Linked DNA regions of Homo sapiens: all the other regions are linked to region 1. The links are contacts of gene promoters, found by promoter capture Hi-C in blood cells and fetal thymus (Javierre and others, 2016). All regions are on one chromosome and are shown on one strand. Each heading gives the region's core, a stretch centred on a gene start or on the middle of the fragment in contact. The rest is flanking DNA. Distances are from core to core; before and after follow the strand shown.

What was found. Contacts are between HindIII fragments. The CHiCAGO score rates a contact against its expected background, and 5 or more counts as called.
Region 2: a contact is called between a fragment that was not itself captured here and the fragment with the promoter of GAL3ST4 in region 1, in 13 of 17 cell types (naive B cells, activated CD4 T cells, total B cells and 10 more). The highest score is 13.2, in naive B cells.
Region 3: a fragment that was not itself captured here is called in contact with the fragment with the promoter of GAL3ST4 in region 1 in 14 of 17 cell types (total B cells, naive B cells, activated CD4 T cells and 11 more); the score reaches 13.7 in total B cells.
Region 4: the fragment with the promoter of AZGP1 here is called in contact with the fragment with the promoter of GAL3ST4 in region 1 in 13 of 17 cell types (neutrophils, total CD4 T cells, naive CD8 T cells and 10 more); the score reaches 14.9 in neutrophils.
Region 5: a fragment that was not itself captured here is called in contact with the fragment with the promoter of GAL3ST4 in region 1 in 2 of 17 cell types (naive CD4 T cells and naive CD8 T cells); the score reaches 6.0 in naive CD4 T cells.

Annotation. Positions count from the first base shown.
Region 1 is chr7:100,166,365-100,172,107 of GRCh38, forward strand. It overlaps GAL3ST4 (galactose-3-O-sulfotransferase 4), which reads right to left and starts at 2,253. Exons shown (of 4, transcript NM_024637.5): 1 at 2,182-2,253; 2 at 607-919; 3 at 138-441. The coding sequence starts at 731. GPC2 (glypican 2) reads right to left here. Exons shown (of 10, transcript NM_152742.3): 6 at 5,723-5,743; 7 at 5,415-5,561; 8 at 5,175-5,314; 9 at 4,897-5,072; 10 at 3,242-4,119. The coding sequence ends at 3,866. RefSeq lists silencers at 5,099-5,318, 5,459-5,568. The HindIII fragment of the contact is 24,826 bases long and covers 1-5,743 here.
Region 2 is chr7:100,406,633-100,412,375 of GRCh38, forward strand. It overlaps ZCWPW1 (zinc finger CW-type and PWWP domain containing 1), which reads right to left. Exons shown (of 18, transcript NM_001386010.1): 9 at 2,796-2,912; 10 at 1,907-2,027; 11 at 596-671; 12 at 62-166. Among named protein-coding and RNA genes, the nearest start is that of ZCWPW1, 19 kb to the right of the region's middle. The HindIII fragment of the contact is 6,048 bases long and covers 1-5,439 here.
Region 3 is chr7:100,367,956-100,373,698 of GRCh38, forward strand. PILRA (paired immunoglobin like type 2 receptor alpha) reads left to right here and starts at 5,532. Exons shown (of 7, transcript NM_013439.3): 1 at 5,532-5,743. The coding sequence starts at 5,702. RefSeq lists an enhancer at 2,449-3,200. The HindIII fragment of the contact is 1,363 bases long and covers 3,332-4,694 here.
Region 4 is chr7:99,972,881-99,978,623 of GRCh38, forward strand. AZGP1 (alpha-2-glycoprotein 1, zinc-binding) reads right to left here and starts at 3,151. Exons shown (of 4, transcript NM_001185.4): 1 at 3,065-3,151. The coding sequence starts at 3,140. The HindIII fragment of the contact is 13,516 bases long and covers 1,799-5,743 here.
Region 5 is chr7:99,990,585-99,996,327 of GRCh38, forward strand. It overlaps the pseudogene LOC100128334. Among named protein-coding and RNA genes, the nearest start is that of AZGP1, 17 kb to the left of the region's middle. RefSeq lists an enhancer at 3,492-3,993. The HindIII fragment of the contact is 5,341 bases long and covers 1-5,296 here.

The sequences.
Region 1 (5,743 bases), core at 1,003-3,502:
CCAACTTTGTGGCCCCTATGTCCAACTTTAGGGTGAGATGATGCCTGGGGAGCCCCCAGGTCTGGGCCCCCTCCCTTGGTGGTGTCAGCCTGAGCCCATCTGTTTCTGGTCCCTCCCACCACTGCGACACTCCTTACCTCTTTCAGGTTGAACCTCATGTGGTGACAGAGGATGTGGAAGGGGAGCTGGGTGCCTCCACCCTGTGGGCGGTAGCCTTTTACCCTAGAGGCCTGGAAGAGCTTTGGGTAGCCAAACTGGTAGCGGGCAGGGAGGGCGAAGCGCAGCCCGTGCTGGTCCCCATAGCGGTGAAGCAGGCTCAGCACAGAGCTGCTCCCGGATTTATGTGTCTTCAGGAACACCAGTCGCTGCCGGGGTGGGCAGGACGGAAGGGCTGGTCGTAGGGATGGGGCCGAGGGCTGTCGGAGCTGTAGCCCAGGTAGCCTGGGAAGAGATGGAGGGGGAGTGTCCTGTTCCTCAGCAGCAAATGGGTAGAAGGGACAGAGGGCATGGAGGCTTCTGAGTCCTCAGGAGTCACCAGCCCCAGGTGGGATGGGGAAGAGCAAGTACGGGGCGTCTAGAAGGAGTTGGGGCAAAGTGGGAACTCACCTCCTCTGGAAGGGCCCTCCCAAGAGCTGGAGTGCAAAGCCAATGGTCATGAAGACTCCCAGAGCCACCCCCAGGCTCCGAGGTCCCCAGAGCCGCAGCGTCCTGGCAGGAGAGAGAGGGCCCATGTGGCACAGGGAAGGGTGAGGTGACAGAGAGATGGAGCCAGGGCCAGGAAGAGGGGCAGAGACAGCTGGAGACAGCCGTGCAGCTGCGGAAGGCACTGGTTGGAGATCGGGGGGTCATTCCCCAGGCCTGCTCACAGTCTTGGTTGAGTCTGCCCCCTGAGTTAGCAGATTTTTGCCTCTGTCAGCGTCTAGAAGGGAAATGAGGGGGGAAGAAGGGAAGTCTAAGGAGAGAGGCAGAGGCAGCCTTCTCTCCTGCTGCAGCTGAGACCTCCTTCAGGGAAGGGGAGTGGCTGGGGATGTTGTCTATACCCAGACTCTCCTAGGTGGCCCCACAACTACTGTCTCTGCTCTATCACTTTCTTATCTCCAGTTCCTCCCGCTCCCCACCTACAGTTGTCCCTGAGCCTTGGGGATTTATAAGGGAAGGAGAGAAAAAGCCCCAGCTCGTGAATGAAACAGCCAGCAAGAGAGAGAGAGATCAGATCAATCAGCTCATTAACACAGTCAGGTCAGACCATGGTCGGGAACCTGGTTTCCTCCAGAGCCCCTCTGGCTGTCACAGATGGGGATAAAGAGCCCTATCCCAGGACCAGGAAGGGAAGCCATACAGTGGGAATGAGGATCAGACAGGACACAGGTGTATGAACCCAGGCAGGAGGAAGGGAGGTTGGACTTCCAGGAGTGGCATTGCAATGGGTAAGAGCCATTGGGTTATAAATTCCCGCGCCTCTTTTTTCTCTGTCTCAGCACGGGGCAGACCCCCATGTATGACAGGGGCTGGGGGAGACGTGTGGCTACTTATAAAGCCCAGATCCCTGGACTTACCCACCATTCCACTTTCCAACCTTATCAGTGCACCCGGAGGAGACTGAAAGGGTGGGGCTGGAGAGGGAGACAGAAAGAGAGAGAGACACACACACACACACACACACACACAGAGAAACAGAGAGAGAGAGACAGAGGGACAGAGAGACTATGACACAAAGATAAGGAGAAAGGCGCAAACACTAACTGCAGAGTTCCTTCTGAAGCCCGAGCTTCCTAATCAACCGGGAGTCCAGCCCCGCCCCTTCAGATTACAACTCGCGATCAGGGACCACGGCCCCTCCAACAAGCCCCGACAGCTCCCTGCTCCGATGAGCCAGGGGTAACCCCAAGCAGAGAGAAGCCACACTTTTACTCCCGGAGACCTGCCCTCTCTGGCATCACTCCCCAATTCCCTCCCTGATCACAGCCCCTGGGGTCTAGCCGCGTCTCCCCTATCCAGAGTTCTTCATTTCCTTCCATCCATCTCTCCCTTCCCATGATTGGAGATCCCAGCCCTCTGTCCCCTCCAGCTTTGGTGACTGCCCAGTTGCCCCCGCTGGGGTTCCATGAACCCCTCATGTCTCCTCCCATAAATTAGAGGGTCCCTCCACTGGTCCTATCCTTGGTTTCACTTCCCACTCACCAGGCCACAAGGGGAGCAGCAAGGGAAATCGGGCCGGGCCCTCCCGCCCATCCCAGCCACCGCCCGACTCTTGGCTCAGCTCAACTTTCCCCAAGAACTTTCTCAGCGCCCAGGCTCCTCCCTCCTCCCTTTGTGCCGCCAGCCCCAGCAGCTGCTGCAGCTTTGATCGCGGTTCTAGGTCTCTCCCTCGCTGCATCTTCCCCTCTTCGGCAGGGCACCCAGACTCCTCTTGGAAGACACCACTTCCGCCCCCGCTTTCACACTTGGGAATCAATCCTACCATTTTCTCTTGGCTTGCCGCAGAACAAAAGATTCATTCAGGCGGTGGAAAGAAAGAAGGAAGGAAGGAGAAAGTGATATTTGAAAGCAGACATTGTCAAGGACGTGGCAAGGTAGCCAGAGACTGACACTCAGAGAACAAGGCCTCCCATCCTGAAGGCAGGGGGCAGTGGTGTGGTCACCTTAATAATGCTTCGTGGCCGGGTGCGGTGGCTCACGCCTGTAATCCCAGCACTTTGGGAGGCTAAGGCTGGTGGATCGCTTGAGGTCAGGAGTTTGCGATCAGCCTGGCCAACATGGTGAAACCCCGTCTCTACTAAAAATACAAAAATTAGCTGACTGTGGTGGCAGGCGCCTGTAATCCCAGCTACTCAGGAGGCTGAGGCAGGAGAATCATTTGAACTGGGGAGGCGGAGGTTGCAGTGAACTGAGATCGCGCCATTGCACTCCAGCCTCGCGACAACAGCGAGACTCTATCTCAAAAAAAAAAAAAAAAAAGCCTCATGTTCAAAGAGCATTTTGCAGGTGACAAGGTGCTTTTTCACACAGATTCTATTTGGTCCCCACAATTCTCCCTGTTGTACAAACGAAGATGCTCAGAGGCCCAGAGGGTGGGCAATTTGGAGATCAGAGGTTATTGTCTAGGCCCGCCTCCTGGGGGACAGGTGCCAAGGGAAGTGAAAAGCCGGCAGAAAATGAGCCAGTCACAGAGGCTCTGAGACCTCTGCTAGGAGCCAGGGCTCAGGCACTGATGGTGACAGCACAGAAGCCACACATGGGGTCCAATACATTACCATTTATTTGCAGAATAAACATGGACTCAAACACTGAAACATGGAGTTTGTGAAGGATGTGGGTGGCAGAGGTCACGAGATGAGCACCCCCCCACCTTGTTTTTTTTAAAATTTGGTTTAAGAAATTGATACTGAAAAAACTCAACAGAACCCAGGCCCATGAAGTCTCACATCCTACTCAAGCACCCTCAGTCCCCTGCCCTGCATCCAGCTGGTCCATTTCTGAGACCAGATGCCCCCACCCCTCCCCACTTCCAACTTCCTTCAAACCCCTTCCCCAGCTGCAACTCTAAACTCCTCATTTTCTCTGTTGGGGCTGATCACCAGCCCCAGCCTTAGAGGGCTAGAGACTATACCTTCTAAGGAAACCACACTCCCTCCTAAATAAATACCCCCAGGCCCCCCTCCCATTACCAAATGAAAAAATAAATATTGTGAACACCCACCCACCTCTGATGAAAATCTCCTGGATTTGGGGCCCCAGCCATTCACCTGCAAAGTCCCTTCTCTACCCTCTCTGCAGCCCCCTTCGACTCCTCCCCAGGCCCAGCTGAGGGGGGAGGAGGGGAAAGGGCCATGAACCCTTCTGATGCTAGGGCACCCCTCCCCCGTTATCGAGGTCCAAGCAGGGCCAGGGCTGAGAGGGAGAGAATGAGGATGGTTTGGGTGTGAAAACCAATAGATGCCCCCCCACTCCTGCTCCGGCCCTGGTTGTAGCGGGCACTGCCACCTCCTCCTTTGCCCCCAGAACCATCCCTTCTAGGAGGGTATGGAGGCCGAGGAGGCCGGGCTGGGGGAGCCACAGCCCCAGCCATCCAGTCATCTGCATACTGCTGTCCCCCTCCAGAGCCGCTGGCATCCTCATCTGCAAGGAAGAAGAGGGACAGAGCAGGATGGGAGGGAGAAGCAGAGGGAGACAGAGGGAGGAAAAGAAATTGAGATAAAAACAGAAAGAGAGAGGAAAGGGAGGGAGACACAGGTGGATGCCGGGTTGGGGAAGGGAGAAAGACCATGAGTGACAGGAAGGCAGGGAGAGAAGGAAGGAGAGAGATCCGACAGCAGACATGGGGGGAGAGATCATGATGGGAGACAGTGAGACAGAGAGAAAAAAAAACAAAACAGGCAGATGGGGAGAGAGGATAACAGGAAAAAACAGAAAAATCAGAAGTACACAGAAGCAGAAAGCAGCCAGGAAGAGGGGTGCGGGAAGAGTGACAAAGAGAGACAGAGACAGACAGATAGAAGGAGAGAAGAAAACAATGAGTGTCTGTGCCTTGCTTCTCTGTTTGGCAAACTCCACCCTGCGGAGCCAGCTCAATGTCACCCACCACCCTGGCTTCCCAGCCTCCCCCAAATTGCCCCCTCCCCCATTTTCCCACTGCCCTTTGCCCATTATAAGGGGCTTCCCACTGTTCTTTAAGAATGTTTTCGTGTCTCCCCTACTGGCCTGAAAGGATACAGACCCCCTCATTGATCTGTTACCCCCAGTCTTTCAGGGCAACGCTCAATAAATGCTCGTTGAATGAATTAGTGAATTAATCAATGAACGCTAAGAGCAGAGGCACGGGCGGGAACTACCAGGAGAGGGGAGAGGCTTCAGGGCAGTGGGCGGGGCTCAGGCTCAGGGATGCAGGGGTCTCACCCGCGTCCTGCCCGTCCAGGTCGTGTCCCAGTGCGGCCGTTTTCATTCTGGCCGTGGCCGCCCGGAGCTGTAGCCGACGCCGCCGTGTCGGGACATCGGGGCCCGAGGCGTCCACCTTGAGCTCGGGGTTGTTGACCTGCTCGGCCGGGGAGCCCCCGACCACTGGCGGCAAGTACCTGCGAGCAGAGCAGCCCCGAAGCGCCAGCTAGCGCGCGCGGCCCCGCCCCTCCCGGCCGCGGTCCCGCCCCCTGCTGCCCCCCGACGCCCCCGAGGCTCACCGGCCCCGCCCGGCTCCGGTCCAGCAGGGCGCCGCCTCCAGCGAGGCGTCCGCTGCCATGCGAGAGTCTCCGCACACCGTCAGGGACAGCCGGGCCCAGAAGCCCCGCATCCGGGCCAGACGCTCGCGGAGCTCCCACACCTGGGCGGGCGAGAGGGGGCGGGGCGAGCTGGAGCGCGACCCCCACAACCATCCCCGGCCCCGGGCCCCCCCGCCCCCAACTCTTGGTCATCCCACGCACCAGCCGGTGCAGGTTGGTGCCTGCGGCCGTCGTGGGCCGCTCCTCCTCGGTCACCATCGACCACAGCCGGCCCGCCTCTTCCCGGGGCGGCGGGGCTCGACGGTTGCGGGCAGGCACCGGGTCGGGGGGGCCGCACTCCTGAAACACCTGCGGCACCGGGAAGAGACCTCACACAGTCACCCTGGGGGGAAACCACACTGCGTCCCCACTCTGACCCCAGAGTCTCTTCCCAGATCCCCTATACTGCCTCTCTGACACCCACACCGTCCCCGCCCCGGGCCTCACCTCCACCCTTCTCTCCCCTGTACCTGGGCGGACACCTTCGCACT
Region 2 (5,743 bases), core at 1,166-3,665, 240 kb after region 1:
GTTTAAGAAAAGGAAGATTTTGTTTTCTCTGTATCACAACAGAACCCCAAGATGTGCTCACCATGACTGATAGCTCCAGGGACAGCTCCTGGAAGTTCTTTAGCATGTTGACTGGGATCCATGCACGAGAAACTGTTTCTCCAAAAAACGTCACATGGTACTTAGACTGAAATAAAAGATGATCCTGTTACGGACTCCTGTCCTGCTCCCTGCTTTTCTCCTCTAGCCAGAACAGATCGGGAGAATGGGAATTCACCCAGAAGGAGGTGCTGGGCCTCACATACTCCTTTCAAAGCCTGACTCATCTACCCTACCCTCGTTGCAATTGTTCTTCCATTCTAACCTCAGGAATCCTAGCCAAAGCGTATTTATCAAAACCACTAATGCCCTGACAGTGGATAAATATTTAATTAGATACAAGTTTGTTTCTATTATATGTGTGAGCACTTATCTCTGTGTTTGTCATCCTAGTTAAGTGTCTGTTTTCACTTGTGTCTGCTGGCTATGTCCATGTCTCTTATCTGTACGTCTGTGAGGATGGATTTGTTCATTACTTTGGCCTGAGCTCCTTCTTACCCTGAACCAGGAAACTCACCGGCAGGGAATCAAGATGGGAAGTAAAAAGAAAATATTCCCCTAAGTCAGGATCAGATTCTATCATGCCTGGCCACCTGGAGAAGATAGTTGGGTGTAGGGGACAGAAGAGAAGGGGTTAGATGAACAGAACACAACCTCATCAATGTACATGCACAGAGAAGAGCAGTATGATTTTTTTTCTGAGACAAGGTCTCACTCTGTCACCCAGGCTGGAGTGCAGTGTTACAACCATGGCTCACTGCAGCTTTGATCTGTCAGGCGCAAGTGATCCTCCCACCTCAGCCTCCTGAGGAGCTGGGACTACAGGCACATGCCACCACACCCAGCTGTTTATTTTATTTTTTGCAGAGATGGGGTCTCACTATATAGCCAGGACTGATCTCAAACTCCTGGGTTCAAGCAATCCTCCTACCTCAACCTCCCAAAGTGCTGGGATTACAAGCGTGAGTCACTGCGCTCAGCCAGCAGTATGCTTTGCAAAAAAAGGATCCAAAAAATAGATTCCCCTTCCATCATCCCCCTCTAGTGGTCACTACTGAATGACTCGTGAGAAAGTGACTTCCATCGATGCACACAGGAGCTCAGAATATACCTAGTGAAGGTATCTTACCCTTCTGAGCCATCCACAATCCTAAGAACAAAATCTTCGACTAGAGACATCTCCAAAGAAGAAACTATCCCACTTTTCCTTGTTCCCTTTACTTTGTCTCTCTCAATCTCAATATTTTTATTTATTTTTGAGATGGGGACTCACTCTGTCGCCCAGACTGGAGTGCAGTGGTGCAATCTTGGTTCACTGCAACCTCTGCCTCCCGGATTCAAGTGATTCTTCTGCCTCAGCGTCCTGAGTAGCTGGGACTACAGGCACGCGCCACCACGTCTGGCTAATTTTTCTATTTTTAGTAGGGATGGGATTTCACCATGTTGGCCAGGCTGGTCTCAAACTTGTGGTCTCAGGTGATCTGCCCGCCTTGGCCTCCCAAAGTGCTGGGATTACAGGTGTGAGCCACTGCGCCTGGCCAATCTCAATATTTTTAAATGCCTCAGATCCACCCTCTTCTTTCTACCAGTTGGGGTAGCACTATCAGACCCTTTTTTCCAGGGAGCTATCACCTCCATGCTGAAACCTCCAGAAAATACACTCTTTCAAAGCCTCCAGGCTTGGTACTTTATCTTTTCTCTCACCCCATGCTCTTTCTAAGGCCAGAACCATTTCAATTACAGATGTTTTCCATTTGCTTCCACCCCTGCTTGAATCTACCTCTCCCAAGTTTGTGAAGGATGCTCTGACTGTGTCATAATGCCCTACCAGGGGTAACCGTATTGCTTGGCCCAGATGATGGATCCTGGGATGTAGGAGGCATAGGCCACATCACTCTCAAGCCCTGTCCAGGTCTCCTCAGGAATATCACAGCGATTATACTGCACATCTGCTGAAAGAGAGAAGGAATGAAGGGACAGGAAGAGACTCTTTAAGAGAAAGAGCTGGATGAGAGCTGGGGAGAGAACAAGAAGGAAATTGGTATATGCAGCAGGTGGGACCAAAGGGGCACCTGGGAGATCAGCACAGAGGAAGAATAAAGACCCATGGAGGAAATGCAGCTGGAACCAGCTGAAATGCAGCTGGAACCAGCTGAAATGCAGCTGGAGGCAGTAGGAATGGTGCCTCCTCATACTCCAGGAAGAGATTCCACACTCCTGCTTGCATGCCCGCGTGTCTGACTGTGCTCCTGTCTATGGAGCACCATAAGAATAATTTCTCTGAGACTCTGTTTTCTCATCTGTAAAATAATTGGGCTGGACAAGATCATCATCATCTCTTCCAACTAGTTCCAAACAGCCTAGAATTCTAAGCGCACCAGATCTCTCTCGTCTGTTTTCCCCGATATATCCTATATCCCTCCCTATCCACCAACCCAATACCAATATTTTAATCAGGATTGACAGGGGCAGACCAATGCTCATGTATTTAGATTCCAGGCCCCTCCCCAACAAGATCACTTTACAGGGCATCTTCCTCCAGCCTTTTCTGCCCAGATTCATCTCCATATGAGAGGCAGATCCTTCCTCTCTCCCAAGCACTACAAGGACACTGAGTGCTAACTATATTTACGTAGTATTTAATCTAAAGGATAAGTGCAGAGAAAGAAAGGGAGGAACAATAAAACATGAATGAAAACATTTCCAGTCTTTTCTACCTGTGTTCTGATCACAGGACCAATTATCTGGGAGAACTGAGGGGTCAATGTTCCCACACAGCCGCCTCCATTTCCCACAGTTTGGGAAGGAACACTGGACCCAGACCAGACATTGACCTGTGAGAGGAAAAAAATGAAATAAGAGACTTAAAAATATGCTCTTCCTTCTTTAATCCAACTAAAATCAGGATAACCCTCCCAACTCCCAGAATGACATAGCCAGAGAGACATTAGAGATCAACCAGCCCGATCCCTGACTTATAAGAGGGAAACCAAGGCTCAAAGAGGTAACTGGCTTGCTGAGGATTAGCTAACTTGGCGATAGAGCTGAACTTAGAACTCAAGTCTCATGCCTTGATCTTTTTCCTGTACTAGGCTACCATGTCTCCCTGCCCCAAGGCTGAAAGGAATGTTTCTTGTATTGACAGTTCTTAAATTGAAAGGTTGCCTGGCATCTTTCCAGATAGTGCCTTGTTCTCTGCTGGCATGACACTACTGAAAAGTTCTTTTGAAGGGCTAACCTGCATCTCTTTTGTGCACAACATCCAGAGTTCTTATCCAAATCTCAACTGATTTACCTGTCACCAAATCACCAAGTTGCAAACTTTAGGACCAACAGTGTCTGAGTTCACTCTTCTCCAAAAGACACAGGTCTAAGCCTATCACTTCTCCATCAACTATTAACTCTGGGCCCTGCTCAAAGGCCAAGCCTTCCTTTTATCCATTACCTTCCAGACCCCCACCTCTCCTAAGCTGACCCATGTCCCTCAGCCTCTCCTCTCTCCCACCAAAACTCTTCCATTGTGGTCTTGGAAAGTCCATTGACTCGAGCAACAAAAGTCCACATATCCTCAACCTCAAATCTGAACTTCTATCTCCTTTCTGAAGCCTGGAGACCCACTAATGACACTGCCCCACCTAAACCACCCCCACCTACAACCCTGTAAGTGCAGTCAGTTCCTCTCACACTCCCCATGTCTCTTGGGACAGAAAGTCAGGCTGGCATTATCATTGCCCCATTGCTACTACTCTCCAACTCTTATAAAAACTTCCTCCCTTGAGGTCTATGCCATGGGACTATCCTCACCTCTCATCTCCCTTGTAGAGATGCTGGTATCTGATTCAGTCTTCTCTCCACCTCCTGCCTTCATTCCAAATGACCTCTACATCCACAGGAACTCCTCATACAGCACCCCATTATTTCAGTCCCTTGACTTTTTTCTTCATGTCACCTCTGGAACCCACTCCCACTCCTGCATGCCCCACCCAGTCATCTGCAGGAACTGCACACCCTCTGAGCCACTCATCCAAACATCCTATCTACAAAAATGCCCCGTCTTCCACCTCACTTGCTCAAAGACTCCTATAGCAACTTTCATTTTATCTAGCTCTCCAACCCACTGCCCACTACCATCCTCTCCATCTGGAAGCAACTTTCATTCTTCACTCTGTTCCACTCTGGTTTGATTACTTGACATTTACTTGGATTCTCTTGTAGACACCTTCAGCTCCCTTTCCCACTGTCGTTCTTCCCACCCAGGTGGCAAAACACCAACCAGAATGAACCCTCTCCACCTTTTCTGAGCCTACACTCAAGCAATTGAGTTGACAGAGAAAAATCACATAACAGACACATAGGTATCGCTATATATTCACTATTTATTTATCAACCAACATATTTCTCCAGTAAGTTCACTCTCTCCCACTGCCAAATTTTACCTTAAATACCTGATCATAAAGGATGGCTCCTAATCCCATCCCTCCAGAATCATCCCTCAGAAAAGTTGACGTGCATTTGGGTCTTTTCAAAATATCACATATAAGGATCACTTTCGCAATTACTTTTTTTTTTTTTTTGAAACACAGTCTCGCTCTGTTGCCCAGGCTCAAGTGCGGTGGCGCAATCTCGGGTCACTGCAGCCTCCACTTCCCAGGTTCCAGTGATCCTCCCACTTCAGCCTCCCAAGTAGCTGAGACTACAGGCATGCACCACCACACCCAGAAAATTTTTTGTATTTATTGACAGAGGCAGGGTTTCCCCATGTTGCCCAGGCTGGTCTTGAACTCCTGGGCTCAAGTGATCCACCCTCCTCAGCCTGCCAAAGTGCTGGGATTACAGGGGTGAGCCACCATGCCCAGCCTCAATTACCTTATCTTGAAGAACAAAGTACTGGTTGGGACTAATATGTTAGTCTGAAATGACAGTTGCCAATAGTAGTTTTGGATGTTTACAGAGGTGAGCTAGCAAGACTAGAAAAAAAGAGTAGGAGGAGAGGCCAGGAGTCATATATATTAATACAGATCAATAATAATACAAATTGTTAGCTGTGAAAGCAGTGAGTACTCATAAGAAAATGAGTAGGAAAAAATCACTATAATGATATGGAACTGGAAATTTATGGCTTGGAATAATATTTTTGACAAGAACATTGTACTTTTTTAAAAGTTCAAGTAACCTAAAGGAGAAGATAATGTGCTCTGGAAAACTGTGTTTGATGCCCGGATGTGGCTCTATGATCATGAAGACTGATGTCACAGACACATGTTAAGAGGATTTCACTTGACCACTCATTCTTGAAACACTAGTTTCCTGGGTTCTGTGATGTCTCATTCTCCTGTCCCCCTCCCCCTGATTTTACTGGCAAGCTTCCCCCTCAGTCTCCTTTGCTGGGTTCTCTTCGTTCTTCAATCTCTAAATGTCAGGGGTCCCAAAGCCCAATCATGGGCCTTCTCTCCCCATGATACACTTTCTCCTGAGGCAAGCTCACTCATTCCCATGGCTTTGAAATCTATTTTCATACCTGACAGAACACAGCTGTCTACTTACAGCCTCTGTTCTGAGCTCGAGATTCCTAAGCCGCCTTGCTCTTTGACATCTCTATTTGGATGTCTCACAAGGATCTCAAACCTAAATGTACCCAAACCTGAATGCTTCATCTTATATTACA
Region 3 (5,743 bases), core at 2,763-5,262, 200 kb after region 1:
GGAAGCAAGTTTAAGAAGGGAAATCTTTTTTTTTTTTTTTTTTTTTTTTTGAGACAGAGCCTCACTCTCATCACCCAGGCTGGAGTGCAGTGGCGCAATCTCTGCTCACTGCAACCTCTGCCTCCTGGGTTCAAGCCATTCTCATGCCTCAGCCTCCCAAGTAGTTGGGATTACAGGCGTGCACCCCCACACTCAGCTAATGTTTGTATTTTTTAGTGGTACTGGAGTTTCACCAAGTTGTCCAGGCTGGTCTCAAACTCCTGGGCTCAAGCAATCCTCCAGCCTCAGTCTCCCAAATAGCTGCAATTACAGGCGTGAGCCACCATGCCTGGCTGAGAGGGAATCGTTAAGAAGGAGTGGGCAGGGGCAAGAACACTGTCAGAGACAGTGTGTTGGCCACGGCTACTACAGCAAATTGGCTGCTTCCTGTGATCGCACGGGTTGAGGGCTCAGTTCCACAAGGCTGCCCCAGCATCAGATGCCAGTCGCAAGCTCACGTGGTGCCTGTGCTTCTGACACAGGGCTATAAAAATTGAGGTTCCCATGATCCCCTCCTTGGGTTCAATTAATTTTCTAGAATGGTACCTAGAACTCAGGGAAGCCCTTTACTTACATGTGTCCCCTTATAAAGGATATTATAGGGCCTGGCGCCATGGCTCATGCCTGTAATCTCTGTGCTTCAGGAGGTTGAGGGGGGAGGTTCACTTGAGCACAGGAGTTTGAGACCAACCTGGGCAACATAGCGAGACCCCGTCTCAAAATAAAGATATAGGATATTACAAAGGATAGTTATGAACAGCCAGATATAAGAGATACACAGAGGGAGGCCTGGGGGAAGGGGTGCAAAGCTTCCGTGTCTTCTCTAGGCACTGCACCCTCTAGGAAGCTCCATGAGTTCAGTTATCCAGAAGCCCTCTGCATCCCTTTTGGGTTTTTATGGGCTTCATTATAAAGGCATGATTGGGCCAGGCACAGTGGCTCATGACTGTAATCCCAGCACATTTTGAGGCTGAGGTGGGAGAATCAATTGAGCCCTCAGGTGGCAACTGAGGCTGCAGTGAGTTGTGATTGCACCACTGTACTCCAGCCTGGGTGACAGAGAGAGAGCCTGTCTCAAAAAAAAAAGACAAAACAAAAAACCTGGCCAATACGGTGAAACCCCATCTCTACTGAAAATGATCGTCACCTGATCCCCACCCCTTGAAGATGCCTCCACCCTCTCCATACGCATTTGGTCAGCACTAACTGCCCTGGGTGACAGGCACACTGCACTGGGTGACAAGGACCCAAAGCTACACCAGCCAGTGCCCCAGCCCTCAAGCACCTCCCTGTGCAGAAGGAAGACAACACAGAAAAGGGAAGCATGGTTGTCACAGAGGCCCAGAGGACTGCTGGCTGATGTCACTGAATGGGGAAGTGGTTGGCCGCACAGGCCCCAAGCTCAGACCTGATGCCACAGTGGACGTTCCTGGGCCATGTGACCTCAGGCTAGGCTCAGAACCACCCTCAGGGCCTCCGTTTCTTTCTGTATAAATTGAGGACCATACAGAGATGCTGCCTACCTCCTGGGATTGTCCAGAGAGTTAAAAGCTCTTTTAAAATGCGCCTGCTGGGCCAGGCACAGTGTCTCACACCTGTAATCCCAGCACTTTGGGAGGCTGAGGCAGGCAGATCACAAGGTCAGGAGGTCGAGACCAGCCTGAACAACATAGCAAAGCTCCATCTCTACTAAAAATACAAAAAGTAGCCGGGCGGGCATGGTGGCACGTGCCTGTAATCCCAGCTACTCAGGAGGCTGAGGCAGGAGAATCACTTGAACTCAGGAAGTGGAAGTTGCAGTGAGCCGAGATTGTACCATTGCACTCCAGCCTGGGTGACAGAGCGAGACTCCGTCTCAAAAAATAAAAATAAATCAAATGCACCTGCTGGCAGGGCGCGGTGGTTCATGCCTGTAATCTCAGCAACTTTGGGAGGCCTAGGCAGGTGGATCACCTGAGGTAAGGAGTTCAAGACCAGCCTGGCCAACATGGTGAAACCCCATCTCTGCTAAAACTACAAAAATTAGGTGAGCATAGTGGTGGGCACCTGTAGTCCCAGTTACTCGGGAGGCTGAGGCAGGAGAATCGCTTGAACCTGGGAGGCAGAGGTTGCAGTGAGCCGAGATGGTGCCACTGCACTGCAGCCTGGGCGACAGAGTGAGACTCCGTCTCAAAATAATAATAATAATAAAACAAAATGCACCTGCCATTTCTTTCCATCAGGTATGGCCATGGAAATGAGGGTCATAAGGGAAGCAGTGTATCCTCACAGATCCCCAGAAACGAGAGACACAGCCATGCAGGGCCACTTGGGAAAGCACCAGGGTCCCTCAGGGAGTAGAGGAAGCCAAGGGAACACAGGGGTGAGACCCTTTGTTATGCTTTCCCTGGAAAAGGCAAGGAAGGGTATGCAGGTTTAGGATTGGCTAGTTAGAATAACGTTAGCAGGCTCTGGGGATTAGAGGCTGTCATTTGTTATTTGGTGTCTGGCCCAGGATGATGAAGGCAGAGAAATACTGCCTTCTGAAGGGTGAGAGGCAGCTAGAAGAGCTGGTTCAGTGTTGGGGCCCTGGATTAGCTGGTTTGCATATGAAAGGCACACTCAGCCAGGAGCCGTGGCTCAAGCCTGTAATCCCAGCACTTTGGGAGGCCGAGGTGGGCAGATCACAAGGTCAGGAGATGGAGACCATCTTGGCCAACGTGGTGAAACCCCGTCTCTATTAAAAATACAAAAATTAGTTGGGCATGGTGGCACGCACTTGTAATCCCAGCAACTTGGGAGGCTGAGGCAGGAGAATCGCTTGAACCCAGGGGTGGAGGTTGCAGTGAGCCGAGACCGTGCCACTGCACTCCAGCCTGGCAGCAGAGTGAGACTGTTTCAGAAAAAAAAAGGGACACTCTCAGAGGGGTCATTTGCTAGCTCTAACAACTGGCTGGCTCTGGCAGGGGCAGTCCCTCTCTCTGCTCTTGGAGGTCCAAGATGCCAGAATATCAGCAATCCAGTGGGGCTTGGTGAGGTGGCTCACACCTGTCATCCCAGCACTGAGGGAGGCCGAGGCAGGAGGATTGCTTAAGCCCAGGAACTTGAGACCAGCCTAGACAACATAGTGAGACCCCATCTCTCAAAAAAAAAAAAAAATTAGCCGTGTGTGGTGGTGTGTGCCTGTGGTCTTCACTACTTGGGAGGCTGAGGTCAGCAAATTGCTTCAGCCCAGGAGTGATGGTGATCGCGTCCCTACACTCCAGTCTGTGGACACTCTAGTACCTTGAGGACAGTACAGCCTGATTACAGAAGCTTTACAGCAAGTCTTGAAGTCAGGTATTATAAATCTTCCACCTTCATTCTTCATTTGTAAAGGCCTTTTGGCTATTCTAGGTCCTTTGAATTACTGTGAGAATATTACAGTTGGCTTGTGAACTCCACAAAGCCTATGGGATGTCGATTGGGATCAGAGGAAAGCAGGAACGGTGGGTGCCAAGGAGAGGTGAGGGGCTGGGGGCAGGGACGGATGTGGCCAGTGAGGACAGTAGGATACTTGTTGGGGGAATGTGGGGACATCCAAGCAGTGGTTCTCATAATGCGGTGCAGGGTACTTACCCCCTCCCTGCCCCTGCTCCCCACACACGACTTCCCACGCCTCTCCCATGAGCACCTGCACTAAGGGGCTGCATTTAGGCTCTGCCCACATTGGAATCATGCCCTCCTCCAGGCCCTCCTCCTCCTCTCAGAAGCCCTGTCTGTGAGAGAGCCACAGCCCCAGGCTCAGTCCCAGGTTCTGTCACTGCTGTTGGGGGAGGGAGGATGAACAAATCCAGGAGACCTCACACCATCCCAGAGCAGAAATCCTGACACAGAAGGAATCTCCCATGGGGGTTCAGCTGGATCCAGGGCCTGAAAGTGACATAAACATGCATGTTGCATCTAAGGAGACTGCACGTGGCAGCATTGGGCAGCATGTGCCCTCCAGAGCTACCCAGAGGCTGTTGGCTATAAGTTCTATGTGGCCCCCACATTGGACAGCCTGGTAAGCAGGTGACCTTTCAGCCAGGTCCTCAGGTGGGGCGGGCCACCCTCTCGAGGCCCTGCCCAGACAGCCAGGGGGTCCCTTGTCCTCTCTGCAGCCCATCTTTCCAGCTGTGACCAGTTCAGCCCAAAGCCCCCGTCCCTCAGTTTCCCTGTGGGTTGAATGGAGATAATGTGTCACCTCAGAATGTTGTGAAGCAGAGAATGAGGTGTTTAGGGCCTGGCTCAGACGGAGGGGTTTCCTGAGCATGGGGAACCTGTTTCCTCAGGCCTGTAAAGGGAGGGAGGGCGGGCCGGCCTGGCTGGCCCTGGGAAGCACAGAGGAGCCTACTAGGACCAGGGAAGAGACTAAGAGAAGGGAGGCCCGTCCCTGCCTGCTTCTGTCTCAAGAAGGCTGATGTCACTTCCTCTGATGAAATCCTGTCTTCCCCCACGGCCCCTCAACTGATGCCACCTCACCCTGGAGAGGGTGGGCAGAGCCTCCTACGGAGGGAGCCCTGTGCACCACCAAAGCTCCCTGCTCCAGTGACCACCCCCGGGCAAAGGCCGGCAGATCCCCGTTAGAGATGGGCCCAGGACTGTGTGTGGGGTGGGTGTTGCTCTGAGCCTTCACTTTCTTCTGTGTCCAAGGAAGCTTCTGGATCAGCCAAGGGCTCAGGTGTGTGGAGGGAATGACCTGAGGGGCTGTATGAAGGGACAGCCTCCTGTCCTGCACTCAGAAGTTGAGGCCCAGAGATTCCACCCTTCAGCCAGGCCCAGACATCTGGGTTGAGGGGGCTCCAGTCCTGTACCCACTACTGCAAGTCACGTGGCCTGGGGCAGGGCTTCTCAGAGCCCTGTCCCCTCCTGTGTAGGGCGGGACGTCAGAGGGGAGCCTGCAGACCCAGTCTCATGTCTTGGGGGTCAAGGGGTGGCTTCCAGAAGGACCAGTCTCTGTGTAGGGGACCATTAGCCCCCTCACCCCTTGAGCAAGGTCGTGGTGCCTGCACCGAGAGAGGGCCTGGGGCAGGAAGAGGCCAGCTGGGTCGTGGTGGTGCCTGGGGACTGCATGGGAGCCCCTGCCAGGGAGGGAGAGGGACAGAGGACAAGCTGGGGGCTCTTCTGCTTGGGCTGGGGGCTGAGCACCTGTGACCTCCACCGGCTTCCTTCTCCTCCTCTCTGAGGACTGAATCTGGGGCGCAGAAGGACAGAGATTCAGGCCTGCCTTTCCTCTCCCTGAAAGAGCCTGCGCTGGCCCTGGGCAGAGAGAAGGATGAGAAGTGAGGCTGAGTGAGGTGGGGTCTGCAGGGATCCAGGTGGGAGGGGCCCAGCCAGCCAAGGTCAGGCCCAGCCCCCCAAGGTCAGGCCCAGCCCCTCGGCAGGAGGACGGGGACCGCGGCCTTTGGGCAGGGCTGACTTGGCACTGACCACAAGGGAGGCCCTTTTGCAATAGGGGAAAATAAGCCAGATGGATAAAGGAAGTGCTGGTCACCCTGGAGGTGCACTGGTTTGGGGAAGGCTCCTGGCCCCCACAGCCCTCTTCGGAGCCTGAGCCCGGCTCTCCTCACTCACCTCAACCCCCAGGCGGCCCCTCCACAGGGCCCCTCTCCTGCCTGGACGGCTCTGCTGGTCTCCCCGTCCCCTGGAGAAGAACAAGGCCATGGGTCGGCCCCTGCTGCTGCCCCTACTGCCCTTGCTGCTG
Region 4 (5,743 bases), core at 1,901-4,400, 190 kb before region 1:
GCCGAGGCGGGTGGATCACGAGGTCAGGAGATCGAGACCATCCTGGCTAACATGGTGAAACCCCGTCTCTACTAAGAATTCAAAAAATTAGCCAAGCATGGTGGCGGGTGCCTGTAGTCCCAGCTACTCAGGAGGCTGAGGCAGGAGAATGGCATGAACCCGGGAGGCGGAGCTTGCAGTGAGCTGAGATCATGCCACTGCACTTCAGCCTAGGTGACAAAGCAAGGCTCCATCTCAAAAAAAAAAAAATTAACACTTCTAGCTTAACCTGACAAATACATATAGTTAGAAAGGGTAGAAAGGAGAATTTACCAGAAAATTCAAGAAATGACCCAGACTGAATTAGCACAGGGTAAGACTAGGATGGAGCTCAGAATTCCCGGGGTTGTACCTTGCATTTTGGTACAAGGTGGGATCTGGGAGAGAGGGACATTTCCATAATAGTTCCATAATTATTTTATGATACAATTTACACAGGTGCTAATGATGTTGGAGGTCATATGGCAGAATCCTAGTTCAATTACTAAAATTATTCTTGCTCCTGAGTGTCTAAATGTGATTAGCCTTTAAATCAGTAGACCCTACAATTGAATTCATGGACATAGAGAGTAGAAGGATGGTTACCAAAGGCTGGGAAGGGTAGTGGCAGGGTTGGGGGGAAATTGGGAGGGTGGTTAATGGGTACAAAAAAAATAGTTAGAAAACTATTTGATAGCACAACAAAGTGACTCCAGTGAATAATAATTTAACTGGGGCCAGGTGTGGTGGCTCATGCCTGTAATTCCAACACTTTGGGAAGCTGAGGCAGGTGGGTCACTTGAGGTCAGGAGTTCGAAACCAGCCTGGCCAACATGGTGAAACCCCATCTCTACTAAAAATACATAAATTAGCCGGGCGTGGTGGCACACACCTGTAGTCCCAGCGACTCAGAAGGCTGAGGCAGGAGAATCGCTTAAGCCCGGGAGGCAGAGGTTGCAGTGAGCCAAGATTGCACCACTGCATTCCAGCCTGGGCAACTCTGTCACAAAAAAAAAAAAAAAAAGAAGAATGAATAAGACCTACTATTTGATAGCACAACAGGGTGACTATAGTCAATAATAATTTAACTGGGGCCAGGTGTGGTGGCTCGTGCCTGTAATTCCAGCACTCTGGGAGGCTGAAGTGAGTGGATCACTTGAGGTCAAGAGGTCAAGACCAGTCTAGCCAACATGGTGAAACCCTATCTCTATTAAAAATACATAAGTTAGCCGTGTGTGGCAGTGTACACCCGAGGCAAGATAATTGCTTGAACCCAACAGGCGGAGGTTTGCAGTAAGCCAAGATCACGCCACTGCACTCCAGCCTGGGTGACAGAACAAGAATCCATCTCAAAAATAATAATAATAATCATAATTTAATTGTACACTTTTAAATAACCAAAAGAGAGGCCAGGCGCAGTTGCTGACACCTGTAATCCCGGCACTTTGGGAGACCAAGGCGGGCAGATCACGAGGTCAGGATATCAAGACTAGCCTGGCCAACATGATGAAACCCGTCTCTACTAAAAATACAAAAAAATTAGCCAGGTGTGGTGGCAGGTGCCTGTAGTCCTAGCTACTCAGGAGACTGAGGCAGGAAAATTGCTTGAACCTGGGAGGCGGAGGTTGCAGTGAGCCGAGATCATGCCACTGCACTCCTGCCTGGGTGACAGAGTGAGACTCTGTCTCAAAAATAAATAAATAAATAAATAATCAAATACTTTTAAAAACTAAAATAACCAAAAAAGTATAATTGGATTGTCTGTAACACAAACGATAAAAGCTTGAAGGGATGGATACCTCATTTTTGATGATGTGATTATTTCACATTGCATGCCTGAATCAAAACCTCTCATGTACCCCATAAATATATACACATACTATGCACCCACAGTTTTTTTTTTAATTTACAAAAAAATCAGTAGACCTTGAGTAAAGTGGATTACTCTCCATAGTGGTGGGCTTCATCCAATCAGTTGAAGGCCTTAAGAGAAAAAGCCTCAGATGTCCCCTAAAGAGGAAAGAATTCTGCCTACAGTCTGCCCTTGGAATCAAGACTAAGACATCAACTCTTCCCTGGGTCTCCAGCCTGCTGGCCGGCTCTGAAGATTTAGGACTTGTTACTCCTCCCAATAGTGTGAGTCAATTTCTTAAAATAAATCTCTACTCTCTCTCTCTTTTGTATACATATATGTAAATCTCTTCCTATGTGTGTGTGTATCCATGTGTATACAGTGTATGTATGTATGTGTACGTACATATATATGTATATGTGTACCACCTATTAGTTCTGTTTCTCTGGAGAACCCTGAGTAATTCAGATTTTGGCACAGAATCAGATTAACATTCCAAAGTGATTGTTATATAACAAACATATAACACCTTTTCTGACAATTTGTAAATGTCATGAATTTTAAACTCACACAACTGAGAAGCCATTCGCTTCCATGTCTTTATCCTGCACATTCTCATGCCACAAACAGCCTCCTTCCCTTATCCTAGGAGTGACTCTTGATCTCCCGGAGCTCCCACTCTCTTCTCTTCCAGCCACTCGCCTTCCAGACCCACTGCAGTGGTGTCTGAGTGTGGGATTTGGGCACGGGTTTCCTTCTAGCACCATCCCTCCAGCCAACCTGCCTTCCCACTTTCCCCTTGGGGCTGCTCTCTCTTTCCCTCAGCGTCAGGCAGGTGTACCCAGCCATCGGAAGGAGGGAAGGAACAGGAGCAGAAGCAGCTCCAGGCATATGGTTCCTACTCCGTCCTGACTGTCTACCCCAAGCAGGTCGCTTGGTCTTTGGAGTCTTTGTTTTCACTGTAAACTAGGGGTTTTAGATTCAGATTCCTGAAGGTCTTATTTCGGGCCAGCGCAGAGGCTCCCTGAATGCTCCTGGAAGTGTGTGAGCTGAGGGAGTTGACAGCCTTGGGCACCCATTCCTGCCGTATGCCAGGGTATCCCAGCTGCATCCAGCCTGTCTCCCAGCCACATGTCCTGTTCCTCACCTCCTTCCAGTCCTCTCCAGCACCCATCCCTTGCTTTCCCCACTCACCATCTTGGTTCTCCTGGGGGACAGCAGGACCCAGAAGCAGCAGCAGAGACAGCAGGACAGGCACCATTCTTACCATTGTGTCTGCTTGGAGGGTTCTGGGCAGGAGGCACAGATATTATCCTGGGTCCTGGGGCCCTGCCCAGGGGAGGTGAATCTACAGGCCAATGGGAGTGCCAGGACGGGCTCCTCCCCTAATAGAGAAAAAAAAATGATACACAAGCTAGGCTGGGCAGAGGTTATGAAGAATGAATCTACACACAGGATATGCAAATTCAGAGCTGAGTCCAGAGTTGATCTCTGGACTGAGGCTTTGTGTGTGCCTGGGGTGGAAGGATGCCAGTGGGTAGGAGGTGCGTGTGATGGGTGGCAAGCGCCTGGGATGTGTCACCCTTCCAGTCTATTGTGACAACCCCTGGGCCAGTAGGGGCATTTGTGTGTTTTTGGACCACACTGTATCCCTGCCTTCCAGAAAAACTCTCAACATGTCCAAGACATGGACCTGGGTAGACCCCAGCTGGGGTGGGACCCTCACTCTCCCACATCCGATCCTGCCAGAGGCTGTGTCTGGAGGACAGTCACATTCCCATCTCTCCCTCCTTCCTTTCTGTGCCTGTGGAATCCCAGCCTTCCATGATGGAAGCAGAAATAGCCGCATCCTCCTTTTGCAGCCTCCCTGGCAACAGAACGAGCCTCCCAAAATGCTGGGATTAAAGGCGTGAGCCACCACGCCCAGCCAAGATAATTTTTAATGCATACAACAAGACTCGTTTTACACAGACGAAGCCAGTTATTTGAAAACCAGGTCTTTCCAGGCACGCTCAGTGTTGATGGGCTATTTGCAGAGAGACCCTCCGAATACAAAGCAACATGCTATTCTAAAGTGACTGGGGCCCGGGTGCGGTGACTCATGCTTGTAATCCCAGCACTTTGGGAGGCTGAGGTGGTTGGATCACCTCAGGTTGAGGTCAGGTACTCGAGACCAGCCTGGGCAACATGATGAAACCTCGTCTCTACTGAAAAAATACAAGAATTAGCTGCGCGTGGTGGCACATGCCTATAATCCCAGCACTCAGGAAGCTGAGGCAGGGGTTTCACCATGTTGGCCAAGCTGGTTTTGAACTCCTGACCTCGTGATCTGCCCGCCTCGGTCTCCCAAAGTGCTGGGTTTACTAGTGTGAGCAACTGTGCCCAGCCTCTCTTTTGGTTAAAGAAACCTACAAAGGGACCTTTTATAGTGACTTCAATTTTATGGAATAATTGTAATGCTCCTAAGGCCGTTGTGCTCCAAAGTCTAGCCGCAGGTATTGTTATTGATTGGGCTCCAAAAGGGCATTATTGGCAAGATTGCTCCAGCAAAAATACCTCATGCTCAGAGTTTAATTATTTGTTAGATTATGTAGAGGATGGATGGCAGTCATACAGGCTGAGACAATGGGTGTCCCCTTACCTATTTAAATGGATGGATGCAGGCATTACTCCTCCTAGACCAAAAATGATTCATCCCTTTGTTACCCCAGAACATCCTCAACTATGAAAATTAGCTGCAGCTATGACAGGAATAAGGATATGGAACACTACCTATCAACTCCTTCACACTAATACCAAAACACCCACATTCAACATCACCCTCATATCTGAACGGGTGATACCCATCAGGAGCTATGTCAAACCCCCTTACATGCTGTTGGTTGGAAATATAATTATCATTCCCAATACACAAACTATAGAATGTGATAACTGTAAGCTGTTCACGTGCATTGATGCTACTTTTAATCCCACTACAAGTACTCTCTTGGTAAGGGCTAGGGAGGGGGTATGGATACCAGTTTCTTTACATCGTCCATGGGAGTCTTCCCCCTCTATTCACATAGTCAATGAAGTTCTTAAAGGTATCCGCAAAAGAACAAAGAGATTTATTTTTACTCTTATTGCCATCATTGCAGGACTAATTGCGGTTACTGCAACAGCAGCAACTGCTGGAGTTGCCATCCACAATTCTGTTCAAACCGTTCAATATGTTGAATTGAAGCATGGCAGAAAAACTCCTCCAGACTTTGGAATTCTCAGGCTCAAATTGATCAAAAATTAGCTAATCAAATTAATGATCTCCGCCAAAGTGTAATCTGGCTGGGAGATATGAATTTGGAACACCGTATGCAATTACAGAGTGATTGGAATACTTCTGATTATTGCATAATGCCTTATGCTTATAATAAATATCAACATAGCTGGGAAAATGTCTCAAGACATTTAAAAGCCTGGGATGATAACTTAACCTTGGATATTTCAAAACTTAAAGAGCAAATTTTCGAGGATTCACAAGCTCATTTATCCACTGTTCCTGGCTCAGACATTTTTGAAGGCATAACTAAACAATTATCTGATCTTAATCCCTTTAAATAGATCAAACCCCTTGGAGGATCATTGTTGTCACTGGCATTATTAATATTGGTATGCTTACGTTGTCTCCTTTTAGCCTGCAGATGCCTCCAAGGAGTCCGAAAACAAATCCGAAGTCAACGACAAGCAATGATGGCGATGGCGATCCTAGTTAATAAAAAGGGGGGAGATGTGGGCGGCAAGCCATCCAGGTGCCAAGCCAAGAGACCGAGGGCATGAGTTGTTCCAGTATAATAAAATATATAAAACAACAAGAGTTATACTAGATCTAGATCATAG
Region 5 (5,743 bases), core at 1,376-3,875, 180 kb before region 1:
CTCCAATTACCGCCTGAGCTCACCTCCTGTCAGATCGGCAGCAGCATTAGACTCTCACAGAAGCACGAACCCTATTGTGAACTGTGCAAGAAAGGTATGTAGGCTGCCCGCTCCTTATGAGATCTAACGCCTGATGATCTGTCACTGTCTCCCATCAACCCCAGATGGGACCATCTAGTTGCAAGAAAACAAGCTCAGGGCTCCCACTGATTCTACACCGTGGCGAGTTGTAGAATTATTTCATTATATATTACGATGTAATAATAATAGAAATAAAGTGCACAATAAACGGGATGCACTGGAATCATCCCAAAACCATTCCCCTCCCCAGTCCGTGGAAAAACTGTCTTCTACGGAGCCGGTCCCTAGTGCCAAAGAGATTGGGGACCGCCGGCTTAAACAAAGAGGTCTTTTTCTCAAGCAGGTTCCAATCAGCGCTAGGCCGGATTCGCTATGGCTTTTGCCTGCCCCCTAGTGGTCAAGGAAATAGTTGCAGCCAAGTGTTAGGATCCAGTCCTTGAGAATTTGGCTCAAAGCCTGGATGCAAAGGCCATGAGATAACGGTCATCCGGTCTTCCTCGCACAACTCACACAATTCTCGCCGTCTTTTTTTTTTTTAAGAGGGAATTTCACTCTTGTTGCCCAGGCTGGAGTGCAGTGGCGCGATCTCGGCTCACTGCAACTTCCAACTCCTGGGTTCAAGCGATTCTCCTGCTTCAGCCTCCCATGTAGCTGAGATTACAGGCGCCCGCCACCACACCCAGCTAATTTTTTGTATTTTTAGTAGAGACGGGGTTTCATCATGTTGGCCAGGCTGGTCTCCAACTCCTGACCTCAGATGATCCACTCGCCTCGACCTCCCAAAGTGCTGGGATTACAGGCATGAACCACGGCGCCCAGCCAATTCCTGCCTTTTATTATGGAGGAAAACCTCCGCGGGATTACAGCACACCCAGTGGACGTCTGTTACCTCATCGAACTTGGGTCCAACCACCGGGTGCTGCAAACACTGACATGTGGATTCCAGTGAGAGAAACTGAGGCATTTATTGCAGGGTGCCAAGCAAGGAGAATCAGCCAGCTCAAGTGTAAGACCTAAATTCCCCAATGGCTTGTAGGTAAGGGTTTTTAGAGGCAGAGAAGCAGAAGTTACAGGCAAAGTCATAAATCAATACATGGCCCGGCACAGTGGCTCACGCCTGTAATTCCAACACTTTGGGAGGCCAAGGCAGGTGGATCACCTGAGGTCAGGAGTTCAAGACCAGCCTGGCCAACATGGTGAAACCCCATCTCTACTAAAAATACACAAAATTAGCCAGCTGTGGTGGTGCACGCCTATAATCCCAGCTACTCAGAAGGCTGAGGCAGGAAAATCTCTTGAAGCCGGGAGGCAGAGGTTGCAGTGAGCAGAGATCGCGACACTACACTACACCCTAGGCGACAGAGCAAGACTCTGTCTCAAAAAATAAAAAATAAATCACTCATAACCTGGTGCAATGGTTCACACCTGTAATCCCAGCACTTTGGGAGGCCGAGGCAGGAGGATTGCTTGAAGTCAGGAGTTTGAGACCAGACTGGGAAACATAGCAAGACCCCATATCTATAAAAACATTAAAACTTAGCTGGGCGTGGTGTCATGCACCTGTAGTCCCAGCTACTCAGGAAGCCGAGGCAGGACGATTGCTTGAGCCCAACAGTTGGAAGCTGCAGTGAGCTATGATCACACCATTGTACTCCAGCCTGGGCAACAGAGGTCTTTAAAAACAAAAAATCAATAACGTGTAATAATCTTTTTTTAAAACTCCCTAACAGGATGTGTGGCAGGTTCCTGAGGTGGTGGCTGCTGGCGGAGGAGAGCTGGCACTCCACCCCCGTGGGGCGCCTCCTGTTTCCCGTGCTCCTGGGATTCCGCCTTGTGCTGCTGGCTGCCAGTGGGCCTGGAGTCTATGGCGATGAGCAGAGTGAATTCGTGTGTCACACCCAGCAGCCGGGCTGCAAGGCTGCCTGCTTCGATGCCTTCCACCCGCTCTCCCCGCTGCGTTTCTGGGTCTTCCAGGTCATCTTGGTGGCTGTACCTAGCGTCCTCTACATGGGTTTCACTCTGTATCACGTGATCTGGCACTGGGAAGAATCATGAAAGGGGACGGAGGAAGAGGACACCCTGATCCAGGGAGGGGAGAGCAGCAGAGATACCCCAGGGGCTGGAAGCCTCAGGCTGCTCTGAGCTTATGTGGCTCAGCTGGGAGCTCAGCTGGTCCTGGAGGGGACAGCGCCGGGGTTGCAGTACCACCTGTATGGGTTCCAGATGCCCAGCTCCTTTGCATGTGGCCAAGAGCCTTGCCCGTATAGATTAACTTGCACCTTTTCCCACCCCTCGGAGAAGATCATCTTTCTAAAAGCCATGTTTGGGGTCAGTGGGTTCCGTCTCTTGTTCACTCTTTTGGAGATTGTGCTTCTGGGTCTGGGAAGACTGTGTAAGCCCCTGCGGAACTTCCTGGGTGGGGCCTCTTCCTCCAGCCACGCCCTGGCCCTGAGCAGCAAAAGGAACCTCCAGCAGACACTGTGAGCCATCCATCGGCCTGGTCAGCCTTGTTCCATTTCAGAGACCATGTTCCCCACAGCCCCAGTGACTAGGGGTGACATCTCCTGACCTCCCCCACCTGTGGATATGGCCAAGTCGAGGTACCGGTTAACCAAAGATGCTGAAGGAGTGAAGAACCAGCCATCCCCTAATACGCAGGATGGTTATATTGATTATGTCAAACTGAAAACTTTGGAGAAACTCCTCTCTCAGAAAGCGATAACTGGGCCAGACACGGTGGCTCATGCCTGTAATCCCAGCATTTTGGGAGGCCTAGGCAGGTGGATCACTTGAGGTCAGGAGTTCAAGACCAGCCAGGCCAACATGGTGAAACCCGTGTCTACTAAAACTACAAAAATTCTGGGCATGGTGGTGGGCGTCTGTAATCCCAGCTACTTGAGAGGCTGAGGCAGGAGAATTGCTTGAACCTGGGAGGTGGAGGTTGCAAAGAGCCGAGATCATGCCACTGCACTCCAGCCTGGGTGACTCCGTCTCAAAAAAAAAAAAAAAAAAAAAAAGTGCTGGTGTTCCTTAGGACTGTGTTGCGGGCCCTCTCTCTCCCCATTCCACACCCTCACTCTCCCTGGATAACTTTCCCTTTGTCTATAGCTCCAGCCACCACGTCCTTGCGGATGACTTCCCAGTGCAGATCCCCAGTCTGGGCTACCTCTCGAGTTCAGGCTTGAAATCCTGTCGTTCGGCCAGGCACGGTGGCTCACGCTGTAATATCAGCCCTCTGGGGGTCGAGGCGGGCAGATCACCTGAGGTCAAGTGTCTGAGACCAGTCTGGCCAACATGGTGAAACCCCGTCTCTACTAAAAATACAAAAAATTACAGGCATGCATGGTGGTGCGTGCCTATAATCCCAACTACTTGGGAGGCTGAGACAGGAGAATCGCTTGAACCCTGGAGGCAGAGGTTGCAGTGAGCCGAGATCGCACCACTGCACTCCAGCTTGGGCGACAGAGACTCTGGTCAGATGCCTCCTAGGCTCAGGCACCTGCTCTGGGAGCAGTGGGCTCCTCTGCATCCTTGAGCACCTAATCTTTATGTGCAGGATCATAAAACACACCGTGCGGATCAGTGTCAGATTTCCTTCTTAAGCTAATAGAACAGAATGCAGCTTTCAGGATTCAGGAAAGATTTTTCTGCACAGGCAAGTCAGTTGCAGTCGCGTGTTATTGCCACCAGAGGACACAATGATCCTGCTAACATGATGAAAGACTCTCCCAGCGGATTTAATAACAATCTTAGCAATTTTTTATTTATTTTTTTTTTCTTGCTCCGTCGCCAGGCTGGAGTGCAGTGGTGCCATCTCGGCTCACTGTAACCTCCGCCTCCCGCCTCCTGGGTTCAAGCGATTCTCCTGCCTCAGTCTGCCGAGTAGCTGGGATTACAGGCGCGCACCAACATGCCCGGCTAATTTTTGTATTTTTAGTAGAGACGGGGTTTCACCATATAGACCAGGCTGGTGGGTGATCCGCCCATCTTGGCCTCCCAACGTGCTAGGATTACAGGGGTGAGCCACCGCGCCTGGCCTTAATCTACTTTTTATATCTGTGGTTTTGCCTTTCCTGGTCATTCCATCTATGTTGAATACTACAATACGTGGCCTTCTGTGCAAGGGCAATTGGTTCCATGCTTAGTCCCACCAGATGATAGATGTTAACCAATATTTACTGATAAGTTGGGGCCTCTCCGACAAGGAGACCAATGAGGCTGTCTCCTTCAAAAGCATCTCAGCTCTGTCTTGGAGCTTTGAGTTGAGAGTTTTTTTTTCAAGCCAGATTTTACGTCGTTCCCAGACACATTCACAAGCCTTGCTGGACCAAAGAAAAAAAACGAGTTAGCCTGGGCACAGCGGCTCACACCTGTAATACCAACACTTTGGGAGGCCAAGATGGGTGGATGGCTTGATGCCAGGAGTTCGAGACCAGCCTGGTCAACATAGCGAGACCCCCCATCTCTAAAAAATAAAATAAAGTACATATACCAGCAATGATGTATAACCGAAAAATAAATAAATAAACAAGTTAATATTGAAATGTCATGTTTGCCCCCAACCCAAATAAGCACTATAACCTCTTGTTATTCACTTCTCATGCAACCAGTCTTCTGTTCTCTGTGAGTCTTTAGGAAATGAGGAGCATGATCTTCTAGCAGTAAAACACCTGTAGAGAATTGCCTTATGTTTTTTGTTTGTTTATTTGTTTGTGTGCTTTGGTTTGGTTTGCTTTTTTTTTTTTTTTTTTTTTTTTTTTGAGATGGAGTCTCGCCCTGTTGCCCAGGCTGGAGTGTAGTGGCGAAATCTCGGCTCACTGCAACCTCCACCTCCCTGGTTCAAGCAATTCCCCTGTCTCAGCCTCCCGAGTAGCTGAGATTACAGGTGCACACCACCACGCCCGGCTAATTTTTTTGTATTTTTAGTAGAGATGGGGTTTCACCATGTTGGCCAGACTGGTCTCGAACTTCTGACCTCAGGCAATCCGCCTGCCTCAGCCTCCCAAAGCGCTGGGATTACAGGCATGAGCCACTGCGCCCCGCCTCCATGTTAATCACTCTTTCTGATTTCAAATAACTCATTATCCCCATGACCTTATGGATTTGTTTTTCCTCTTCATCCACAAAATTCTCCAGAGAAGTCTCCCTTGTTATCTCTTGGCTGTGCTTTCTATCTCACCAGTTATCTTTCTCCAAAGAGCTTCCTCTGCAAAGAAGCTTTGTATATGAAGACCATGTGGGGGCTGAATCAAGACCAAGTTTCACAACCTAAAAGTAGTTCACAAAGCTTCCTTGCCTCTATTCTCTGCAAATCTGTAAACTCTTCAGCTGACCCAATTTCTCTCTTTAGCCTTCAGAGATTATTTTATTTTATTTTATTTCATTTCATTTCATTTCATTTTGACAGAATCTAGCTCTGTCGCCCAGGCTGGAGTGCAGTGGCACCATCTTTGCTCACTGCAACCTCCCCCTCACAGGTTCAAGCAACTGTCCTGCCTCAGCCTCCCGAGTAGCTGGGATTACAGGCGTGAGCCACCACGCCCAGCTGATTTTTTTTTGTATTTTTAGTAGAGACAGGGTTTTGCCATGTTGGTCAGGCTGGTCTGGAACTCCTGATCTCAAATGATCCGCCTGCCTTCACCTCCCAAAGTGCTGGGATTAC